Linked DNA regions of Homo sapiens: all the other regions are linked to region 4. The links are contacts of gene promoters, found by promoter capture Hi-C in human tissues and cell types (Jung and others, 2019). All regions are on one chromosome and are shown on one strand. The core of a region is centred on a gene start or on the middle of the fragment in contact, and the rest is flanking DNA. Distances in the headings are between cores, read along the strand shown.

Evidence for each region. The method cuts DNA at HindIII sites, captures the fragments that hold promoters and counts their contacts. A contact is called where the count stands out against the background at its distance.
Region 1: a fragment that was not itself captured here is called in contact with the fragment with the promoter of TEAD1 in region 4 in 1 of the 25 tissues and cell types used here (aorta).
Region 2: a contact is called between a fragment that was not itself captured here and the fragment with the promoter of TEAD1 in region 4, in 1 of the 25 tissues and cell types used here (thymus).
Region 3: a fragment that was not itself captured here is called in contact with the fragment with the promoter of TEAD1 in region 4 in 1 of the 25 tissues and cell types used here (stomach).

Annotation. Positions count from the first base shown.
Region 1 is chr11:12,470,204-12,472,903 of GRCh38, forward strand. All of the region lies in intron 1 of PARVA (parvin alpha), which reads left to right. Among named protein-coding and RNA genes, the nearest start is that of PARVA, 94 kb to the left of the region's middle. The HindIII fragment of the contact is 3,267 bases long and covers 1-2,700 here.
Region 2 is chr11:12,501,767-12,504,466 of GRCh38, forward strand. It overlaps PARVA (parvin alpha), which reads left to right. Exons shown (of 13, transcript NM_018222.5): 6 at 2,548-2,663. Among named protein-coding and RNA genes, the nearest start is that of PARVA, 130 kb to the left of the region's middle. The HindIII fragment of the contact is 7,128 bases long and covers 1-2,700 here.
Region 3 is chr11:12,916,940-12,919,639 of GRCh38, forward strand. The region is part of intron 10 of TEAD1 (TEA domain transcription factor 1); the gene reads left to right. Among named protein-coding and RNA genes, the nearest start is that of TEAD1-AS1, 4.6 kb to the right of the region's middle. The HindIII fragment of the contact is 7,007 bases long and covers 1-2,700 here.
Region 4 is chr11:12,672,912-12,675,788 of GRCh38, forward strand. It overlaps TEAD1 (TEA domain transcription factor 1), which reads left to right and starts at 1,510. Exons shown (of 13, transcript NM_021961.6): 1 at 1,510-1,923; 2 at 2,498-2,650. RefSeq lists a silencer at 1,202-1,501 and an enhancer at 2,337-2,877. The HindIII fragment of the contact is 23,361 bases long and covers 1-2,877 here.

The sequences.
Region 1 (2,700 bases), core at 23-2,522, 200 kb before region 4:
TAACCTGTGCAGTTGAAGGGTGGTCTTGACAGTTTGGATTATGTATTCAGCAAATATTTCTTGAGTGCTTACAATGCTTGAGGTGTTGTTTTAAGTAATAATAATAGTTGCATGTATTTACCTAGCTCTTACCAGCTGCCAGGCATGCTTCTGGGTACTTTGCATATATTAACTCATTTAGTCTTCTCAGCAACCCTTGGAGGTCGGCAATATTGCTGTCACTCCCATTTTGCAGGTGAGGAATCTAAGGCATGAGAGGTTGATGAACTTGCCCAAGGCCACAGAGCTGGTGAGTGGTAGAGTCTGGATATGAACGTAGGCAGCTTGGCTTCTAACCACTGTGCCCTCTGGCCTCATGGGGGATCTAATAGTGAACAAAAGAGAAATAGTGCCAGTCCTTACAAAACTTACATTCTGGTGAGGGAGAGAGTTAACAGCCATATAAGTTTTTATTTCAGATCATGATGAGAAAATAGATCATGATGAGAAAATAAAACATGAGAGGGAGGTGGGAGGGCGCTAATCAGAGTCTCATAGAATAAAACCTCAGCTCCTACCTATGACCTGAGTATGATGGGAAGTCACAAGAAAGCTTGAAGTGGGAGAATGTATGATCCTATTTACATTTTTGTAGAACATTCTCGCTGCACTGTGGGAAGTAGGTGAGAGTGGGGGAAATGCAAGCAAAGCAGTAGACCAGTTAGAAGGTGGTTCTGATAGGCCAGGCAAAAGATAACGGTGGCTCAAGTCAGGATGATAGAGCAGGGAGATGGTGAGAAGTGTTTGGAATTGGGTCCTGGTTTGGAGGCGGAGCCCACAATACTTGCCAGTGTTTTGGACAGATGCAAAAGGTGAGGAAAATGAGAACTTAAGAGTGATTCCTCGGAGCTTGGCGTGAACCATGGTGTAAACAGTGGTGCCATCTACTGAAGAGGATAAGAATAAAGAACAGGTTCATTTTAGTGCTGGTATGGTGGGTATGAGGGTGTTGAGAATCACAAGTTCTGTTTGGATGTGTACATTTGAGATCTCTATTAGTAGACCTAAGAGGAGACATTGAATAAGTGATTAGATTCATAAGCTTGGAGCTCCAGGCTGGAGATTTAAATGTGGACATGGACATTAGTTGAATGGGATGACCTAGGACATTATCCACTTACTCTTTTAAAAATTTTATTTTTTAACTTTAAGTTCAGGGGTACATGTTTGTTACATAGGCAAACTTGTGTCCTGGGGGCTTGTTGTATGGATTATTTTCCCATCAACTATAGACTGGATAAAGAAAATGTGGTACATATACACCATGGAACACTATGCAGCCATGAATAAAGAAAGGATCATGTAATTTGCAGCGACGTGGATGGAGCTGGAGGCCATTATCCTTAGCAAACTAACAGGAGCAGAAAACCAAATATGGCATGTCCTCACTTAAATCATGAGAACATACTTGATGATCTTGTGATGGAACCTTTCTACATCCATGCTGTCTGGTGTTGTAGGTACCAGCCACCTGTGGCCATTGAGTACTTGAAATGTGGTTGGTGCAGCTACGGAGCGGAATTTTTAATTCACTGAAATTTAAATAGCTCAAGTGGCTAGTAGCTACTGTATTGGACAGTGCCGATCAGTGTAGCTACAGGAGAGAAAGTCCCAGGCAGGAGCAAGTTCCTTCATTGGCCAGTAAGCCTAGCCTTGCAGCCACATTTAAACATGACTTTATTTCCACTGCTCACTCCTTGCGTAGCAATGCTTGTTAACAAAGTAATGAAAATTGTGCTTCTTTGTGAGAAATAGCCTGAGAAAGAAAGAAAACTGGTAGTTCTAGGGGAGATATTAGAAGAAACTATAGAATTTTAAGGAAACAGTTGTGCTTAGCTGGAAAACAAACACAATCTGTACCTACAGAATCATTTAAGCCAGGGATGTCCAATCTTTTGGCTTCCCTGGGCCACATTGGAAGGAGGAGGATTGTCTTAGGCCACACATAAAATACACTAAACACTAATGATAGCTGATGAGCTATTAAAAATCTCCAGATAATGTCATAATGTTTTAAGAAAGTTTATGAATTTGTGTTGGGCTGCATTCAAAGCCATCCTGGACCACATTGCAGCCCGTGAGCTGTGGGTTGGACAAGCTTGATTTAAGCTTTGAAGGTACCCCTTCTGTGTTTCTGTCATGTTTTATGGAGAATTCTATGAAATAGTCGGTGTCTGTGAATGTGGAGATCAAGGTGGTGACTGGCTGGTACCCTATGTGAATGTCAAAGACCTGCTGCAAAGGTACTAAATACCAGCCTCGCCATGCAAGTTGTGTCTCTTAGGGCGTAGAGAGTGTTTCACTCCCTTTGTTTCTCAGTCTCCTTCCAGTCCAACTGCAGCTATCAGTGAGTGTATTGAGGTGAAAGAACTCTTTGTAAGTGGCTGCCTTGTGCTTAGGATTTCTTGCAAGTCTATGCTGGCAATTGGTGAGGCCAGAGTCAATAAAAAAAATAAAATGGAAAGATGGGACGCTGCTTTTATTAAGGTTGATTGCAGCTGCTGTATTAGCTCTTTAAGAACCTCTTGGTGACCAACGCCTTCTGAGAAAATGGCCTTTCTGTGCTTAATTGGCAAAAAGCAAGGGGATTTAAGTCACTGCTTTTAGGAGGGGTAATCCAAGGTCAGCACTCACCAAACGTCTGTCACACAACTGGTTTTG
Region 2 (2,700 bases), core at 49-2,548, 170 kb before region 4:
AAAATCCCAGGAGGATAGAGCATTCATTGAATGAGTCTGACATCTATATGATGCTTATGGTATAGCTCTGCATTGCTCACTAAGACAATGGAGATGGTGTACAATGTCACCAGGGTATAAGAACAACTTACTTGATCACAACTTTTCTAGCATTATATTTTGCCATTAAAGGGGAGAGGGGTAGCAAATGTTCTTACAACCCTCAGTGACGCCAGGTGGTGGGCCGGTAGTTCTGATGAGAAGAGCAAACCTGGATTTGCCTCTGATGGTGACCACACCATGTCAGTGGGTCACAGTGGGTCAGTGCCACATCAGGATCTTTTTTTGAGGCTGTAAGTCTGGGTAAAACTTAGTTAACAAGGCCCGAAAGCCCAAAATTGAAACCTTCTGGAAGGCTAGGAGTTCAGAGCAGTTCAGCTTCTGTTTGTGGTGATGGTGAGCTGCTGTTCATAATCAGTAGAAAACCTTCTTTGAAGTAGCAGTGATAACCAGAAACCCTAATGAGTTACAAAGGAATGTCTGAATCATTCTCTTTTCTTAGTGATTTCTCAAAGCTTCTGCTAAATCAGACTCACTGATCCCAGGGAAGACAGAATGACATCCTAATAATGGGCCTAGTGCATGCGAAGTACACAAAATAGGCATTTTTTTTTTGTTATTCCCTTAAATGCCCCCTGTAATGAAGAGCCGTGAAGCTGGTAGGACTGTGAAGGCAGGCAAAATATCTGATGAATCTTCCCTTTGATGAGAAAGAAAGGGAATAAAGCTGGCATGTTTTAGTTGCCTAGGTGCCAGGTAATTTCACATAAGGTATAATAAAAAAAAAAAATCAGCCATTCCTGGCCACCTGTTGTGTTCCAGGAGCATCAGAGAGAAAACTCCCAGGAGACATGTCGAGAGGCAGGAATGATAGGGGCACACAAATGTTCAACAGTGGCTAGAATTTGTTTTAATTGAAAAGATGGCAGATTTTTATTCTAAAGAATATTTTGAAATAGGAAAAAAATTAAGACTATCCACTCTAGTGTAACTATTTTCATTTTTTTTTTTTAATGAAGGCTTTTGGGGAATCTTTACAACCTGTACATCCACATAGGTTCTGTTACCTCCATTTGTAAAGATGAGCAAATTAAGGCTCAGAGGCCTTCGGTGGCCTACCCTACCCAAGGCCATGTAGCCAGTAAATAAGTGGTAGATTATAAAGTTAGAATTCAGGCTCCAGTCTGCCTGACCCTCTGTGCACCTCACTGAGTCTTTTTCTCCTCATCTAGTGAGAAAACTACAACCCAGTGTGACCCTGCCTTCTCTGGTGTAAATGGCTTGACTTTGAGCACATGACTCAGCAGCTTTGGCAGCCCCCTGGCTCAGTAACATCCCGTCCCAGCTGCTCCTTAAAGGGCATTGCCTACAGTGACCATAGTGACACTCAAGCCAAGTAACATAGCCCTTTGAATGTCTCTCTCATGGCTTCTTCCAGGGATCTTAAAGCCCTGAACCAAGGAAGAGACCTAGTGTTCCTGACTCAATGTTTATTTATTAAGGGCGTGCTTTATGTGCAGTCTTGAGACAAGGGTAGTAGTGATAATCCAGAGTTCATGGTTAAGTGGGAAGGGAGAGGGAGTGCAGAGCAGACATGCTTATGGTGATTGGAGTGGAGTGGGCAGGGACATGGGACCGGGAGAGAGCTGATCTGAGCTCAGAGCTCAGCAGTTGTCAGGATCCTCATGGGAACCTGGGATTAGAGAGGTGCCACATTGGAAATCTGGCAATAATATGACCCAAGAAGGAGCCCCATGGGACCTGGCAAAGAACTGAGGGGGCCAGGCATGGTGGCACATCCCTGTAGTCCCAGCTACTCCACAGAGGCCAAGGCGGGAGGATTGCTTGAGCCTAGGAGTTCGAGGCTGCAGTGAGCTAGGATTGTACCACTGCACTCCAGCCTGAGCAACAGAGCAAGACCCTGCTTCAAAAAAAAAGAAAGATTTGAGGGGGCCCAGAGTGAGGCCTGTGATGACCACAGGTGTCCCCTGACCCTCAGGCATGGTATAAAGGGACATTGGGTGGATATATTAGGCTGTTCATGCATAGCCATTAAGAAAGGCTTGAGGCTGGGTAATTTATAAATAAAAGAGGTTTAAACTGGCCGGCATCTGCCTGGCTTCCAGGGAGGCCTCAGGGACCTTTTACTCATGGCAGGAGGCAAAGTGGGAACAGGCACTTCATATGACAAAAGCAGGAGCAAGAGAGAGAGTGGGCTGCAGGAAGGTGCCATATACTTTTCAACCACCAGATCACATGTGAGAGCTCGAGTGTACTTATCACCAAGGGAATGGCACTAAGCCATTCATGAGGGATCCACCCCCACAATCCAAATACCTCCCACCAGGCCCCACCTCCAACACCGGGGATTACATTTCAGCATGAGATTTGGGCAGGGACAAATATCCAAACTCTATCAGTGGGGTACTACTACACTTTGAACATCTGCTTATATTGCCTAGAACCTGGAAGAAGATGCTGTAATTTTTCAATCTTCTTTCATTTCAGCTGTTCATGCCAAGAGCCTGGTGGCCATCTTACACCTGCTCGTTGCTCTGTCTCAGTATTTCCGCGCACCAATTCGACTCCCAGACCATGTTTCCATCCAAGTGGTTGTGGTCCAGGTAAGACAGGTAACACTACAAACATCTGTGTCTTTAA
Region 3 (2,700 bases), core at 42-2,541, 240 kb after region 4:
TGGTACCCGAAGTTCTGGATGGAAGTTACAGAGGAGCTCATTTCAACTTAACAGATGTAATAGGCAGCATCATGGATCCCCAGACATGCCTCCTCTGTAGCCATGGAATCTGTGGATAATGGTACATTACATGGCAAAGGGGAATTAAAAGTTGTTAATCAGCAGATAGAATATCTTGGATTATCTAAGTGGGCCTAGCATGGTCCCAAGGTCCCTTAAAGCAGAAGAGGGAGACAAAAAAAGACATCCAGAGAGACGACAGCTGGCAATGTGAGAAGGATTCGGCTGGTGTTTCTGGCTTTGAAAATGGAGCAAGGGGCTCCGGGACAAGGAATGTGGGTGGTCTCAGAAGCTGGAAGAGGCAAGGAAACAGAACCCTCTTCAGAGCCTCTGTCTAGTAAGGAGTTGCGTCCCTTCTAGTTCCTTGATCTTAGCCAGCCTGGAGCTGAATTAAATTTCTGACCTACAGGAATATAAAATAATTAGTTTGTCTTGTTTTAAGGCACTAAATGTGTGATAATTTGTAGCAGAGAAAATTAATATAACAGAAAAAAGCATTAACAGTTAAGGCTGTCTGGCAATATTATTATTATTTATAAATAGAGATGGGGTCTTGCTGTGTTGCCCAGGCTGGTCTCAAACTCCTGGGCGTAAGTGGCCAGCGTGCCTGGCCCAGCAGCATTATTGAAGTGATTTTCCTGTGTCTGAAAGTATTTAGCTTTAAGGCAGTGCAGGTCAGGATGCTGTGGAAAGGATTTCTGCTTTTGGAGGTAGGAGAGAGTTGACCTCTGAACTAAGTTTCAGCTTAGCGTTTAGGGTCTCTGTTTCTAGAGCAAACAGGGAGAAGATTTCTTAGAAGGACTCATTTCCCTGGACTTACCTTCCCCAGCCATATTTCTAAGTGTTGTTTTTTAACACTGCAGAACCTGGCCTATGACCAGCCTTTTTGGCTAGCTTGTGCCCAGAAGATGGGATATGGTTTGACTTTGGAATTTATTGGAAAGATAAGTTTTACTAGTTTTCAACTGTTTCTTGGATTTTTGTTTTTATTTACTTTTAGAAAATATCCTGTGGTTAGGTAAAAGCTGATTAGGCAGAAATAGTTTGTATCTCTGATAGTGGTACATTTTTAAAAACTCATTTTCTTGCCTTCAGAACTACATGAAATAGGTTTGCTTTCCACCTGGAGTGATTTTCAGTTGGGAGGGGGGACGTGTCAGTAGGGTAGATAATGAACTCTGCAAATCCCAGACTTCTTTGTTGTTGACTTAATGCTAGCATTCTTTCTTTGATATTACCTTCACTTCATGGGAGTTCAGTGACTGCATTTCTTTCTGGAATAGCCATAACACTATCAGCTGACAGATAATTATATATATATAAAATTATATATATCTTGATAATTATATATATATCTTGATAATTATATTTTACATCAATACTTCCTCCTAGAAAATTCCTGAAGAGCATCTGTGATATGGTTGGATAGCTACATAATTATTTTCCATGTTCAAGGGTAATTACAAAGCAGTTGTAATGGCAAATTGGTTATTTACTGTTAGTTGGGAAGCCTTTTAAAATCTAATCTCTTAAATTTACACTAATAATTAAATAGAGAATTTTCTCAGACTGTTTCTCCCTACCTCTTATCTAAATGAAGGATAAAATGCACGTAGACTCTATGACCGAGTAATTACACTCCTAGGAACGTCCAACAGAAACACATCCATATGTCCCTCAAAAGCATATTCAAGAACGTTCATAGTAGCACTCTTCTTAATAGGTCCATTTGGAAGCCTCGCAAATGTCCCTAAGTAATAGGGTGGATAGATCGTGGCATTTTTCATTCAATGGAATATTCTACAGTAATGAGGATGAATGAACTATATACAACAACATGGTTGAGTCTCACAAATAAAATGCTGAGTAAACAAAACTAAACACTGTAAACCCTGTTGCACTTGCTTAAAGTTCAGAAACCAGACAAAACTAATGTGTGATGTTTCAGGATCATGGTTACGCTGGCAAGGTGTATAGATGATTGTGCCTGGAAGGAAGGATATTTGGGGGAGAGAGGGACTTCCATTTCTTCATCTGGGTGCTGGCTCACTTGATGAAAATTAATCAAGCTGTAAACTTCCAGTTTGTGTACTTTTCTGAATGTATATTTTAATTTTATGTAAAACTGTTAACTTTGACAGCTTTAAAACATGTAATTTGTTGGGATGGTTTCTGAGGGTAGGTTGGGTATTCTTTAATAACTTTGTTTTGAATAATTCTATCATTGTAACTACAGATCATCCATTCCAAATGGAAGCTATATTAAAGTTGTTTGGGGAGTTCTAAGAGATAATGGTAAACCAATGGTGAGGTGGTAGGAATGGTCTGCCGCAGCTGCAAGCAGTAAGGACTTTGCTTGGCTGTAGGGAATTTACAAACAATGGCAAAACCATCTAAAAAATCAATTTTCTTTTTATTATCACCATATTAACTGACAAAACCTCCTTTGTTGGCCTGAGTCCTAAATAATTGGTGAAGTTAGTGTTGAATTTTTTTAATTACTTTTTTTTTGAGACAGCATCTAGTTCTGTTACCCAGGCTGGAGTGCAGTGGTACAAATCATGGCTCATTGCAGCCTCAAACTCCTGGGCTCTAGGAAGCTTCCTATTTTAGCCTCCCAGGTAGCTGGGACTACAGGCA
Region 4 (2,877 bases), core at 260-2,759:
CACTTTTGTAATTCCAGCACTTCAGGAAGCCGAGGCAGGAGGACAGCTTGAGCCCGGGCGTCTGAGACCAGCCTGGGCAGCATGGTGAAACTGCATCTCTACAAAAAAATTTTAGAAATTAGCTAGGCGTGGTGGTGCGTGCCTGTAGTTCCAGCTATTCGGGAGGCTGAAAAGGGAGGATGGCTTGATTCCAGGGAGTCGAGGCTGCAGCGAGCCCAGATCGCACCATTGCATTCTAGCCTAGGTGACAGAGCAAGATCCTGTCTCCAAAAATAAAATAAAAAAAAAATTAAAAAAAAGGAAAACAATGTATTAGTAAAAGTTATGTTTTGTAGAAATGTGTTGCACTCAGTCACAGTCTAGTCTCCTCAGTTACCCATATATAGGGATATAGGGATTCCTCGGGCACAAAATATGTTGTTATTTAATCCTGAGGCCTCAGCTGGAAAAGAGAGCCAAGTGCCTAGAACGAATGAGGTCCACTGTGCGGGAACTGCTTTGCAGTTTGTTAAATAATTATAACAATCACCCGAAACTTTAGACGGTTCTGTCCCCAGTGGGTCGATTTTACCCGTTTTCTGATTTACCGACTGCGTCTATGTCACTTTTGCGTCACTACCTCCAATGGCAGGGTTAAAATGATTCCTTTAATAATGAAATGAAGTTTCTCAATAATGAAAGGGCTAACTTAAAGTCGCCGGATGCAGCATTTCAAAGTTTAGGAAGTTACTTTTGAAAAGTACAACCGGCAGAGATGAGTGAACTTAGTTTTTTAACTGACTTGGAGAAGACCTTGCTAGCAGGGCAGGTTTATTACGAACTCTGTAATTATCCTTCTTTGCTAAGCTAAAGGTTTTCCTTTCCCAACCGTAAGACAGATTTCGACTTGAGTGAGAGCTGTGAACTTTTATAAAAGTGAAAGGGAAGAGAAGAAATGGCAGGCTGGGAATCTGGCCCGGAGACGGCGTCCACCGCGCTCGAGAGCAACAATCTGCATCACCAGAAAGGCAACTTCTCTACCCTACACTTGCAGACTTCCGCGAGTCCGGGAGCACTCAACGCAGTCACCCGCGCTTCCGCGTCCCGGACTAGGGAAACTGAGGCACGGTAGGCGCGTCGCGCGCAACTCCCGCCTCGGCGCCTGCCCCCTGGAAGAAACCCAGGCTTCCAGAGTTCTTCGCGCGAGCGCAGGGACTTCCAAGCCGCGCAGCTCCCGTCCGCCCCGCCCCGCCCCGCCCCGGCTCGGGACAAAGCCCGGAGCCCGCGCCGGGAGACGGAGGGCGGCTCCCGCGCGAGCCACGCTCCCCCGTGGGCGCGAGACTCCGCCCAGCTGCCGAAAGCCCGCGCCCCAACGGCGAAGCAGCCGCGCCGGTCCGCCCCGATTCCCCATGACGTCACCGGCGGCGGCAGGCCCCGCCTCCAGCCCCGGGCGGCAGGCCGCATGACGTCACCGAGGCCCCACCCCTCCGGAGCGAGTTCGGTCCTGGCGTTCATTTCATTCCTGTCCTCATTCCGAACATTCTTAGCATCGCTCGCGCCGCGCCGCGCCGCCTGAGCCGAGCCGAGCCTCTGCTGCCGCCGCCGCGGCCCCGCCGCCCGCCGCGGGCGCCCACCAAGCACTTTGCAGACTCGCTTCCACCCTGCGGGCCATTCCGCGCGGCGGGGCCCGGGCCCGGGGCGGCCGCGTCCAGGCACAGGCCATGCAGTGACGCCCCCCCACCCCTCCACCTTTGCCCGGAGCGCGGGCAGCAGCCCAGCGCGCCAGCCGGCCCCGGGGCAGGAGCGGTGCTAGGCAGGGGTGGGGTGGCCGGGCCCAGGGACCGGGAGCCGGGGAGGGAGCCGGGCACCGAGCAGAGGGCGGGGGAAGCGGCGCCGAAGTTTGCCTCGGACTCGCCGGGCGCTGCGGTGGCTCCCTGGGCCGAGGTAAGTTGGCGCGCGGGGCGGATGCTGGGGTGCGGGGGGCGCACGGGGCAGCGGGGGGCCGGCGGCGCGTCCCTCGCGGGCCGCTCTTTCTTTGCGGGCTCTGCTTTGTGTGCGACGGCGGGCGGGCACGCGGAGGGCCGCGGCCGGGCCCCCACACCCGCCTCCCCGCGCCCCCTCCGAGGTGAGCGGCCGGGCGCCGCCGCGCGACTTGCCAGGACGCCAAGTTGGGCCGCGCGCTGGGAGCCCGCGCGGCAACAGGCGGCCCCCGGCCGGCCGCGCCGCGCCCCCCGCGCGCCCCCTCTCCCGCCGCCTGCACGCGCACACACGCACACACCCTCGGGCGCCTTGGACGGGGTGCGCTGGGGAGCCAGAAGTTCGGAGCGAGCGCGGGCGGGCAGAGCCGCCGCCTCGGAGCCCGGAGCCGGCCTGCACCCCCCTGCTTTCGCCGCCGCCCCCCGGCGCCGGGTACCCCCGAGGCCGGCCCGGGTCTGCGCAGACTTGTGCCGCTGGCGGGGGGTTCGCTCCTTCTTCTCAAAGATGAAAAAGGGCACGGTCGTCTTTGCCGCTTCTCCAGGACTGTTGCTGCCGCTGCCGCCGCCGCTTCATTGCACATTCAAGTGGAAAATTTTCAGGAGTCAGCAGAAACATTGTGTCCAAAAAAGACTGAGTCGCAGTTACCACCAAACCCAGGAGGAGACTCTCCCTGGAAAACTTCCCTTCCCTTTCGGTAGGAAATACTGGGGGATTTGTTTGTTGATTGGAAGAGAAATGATCCCCGGGGGGGAGAAAATCTGGGTACACTTCTAGTCTTTGTTCGTAACAGCAACACTTGTTTTCAAAAGTCCAGAGTCCCGCTTTAAAGAAAGTTTAACTTCTGTGACTTTTCTTCTTTTTAAAAAAATAACTTTTGTATTTTTAAAAAATCAAAGCAATATTTTTAATGAGTCGAAAACA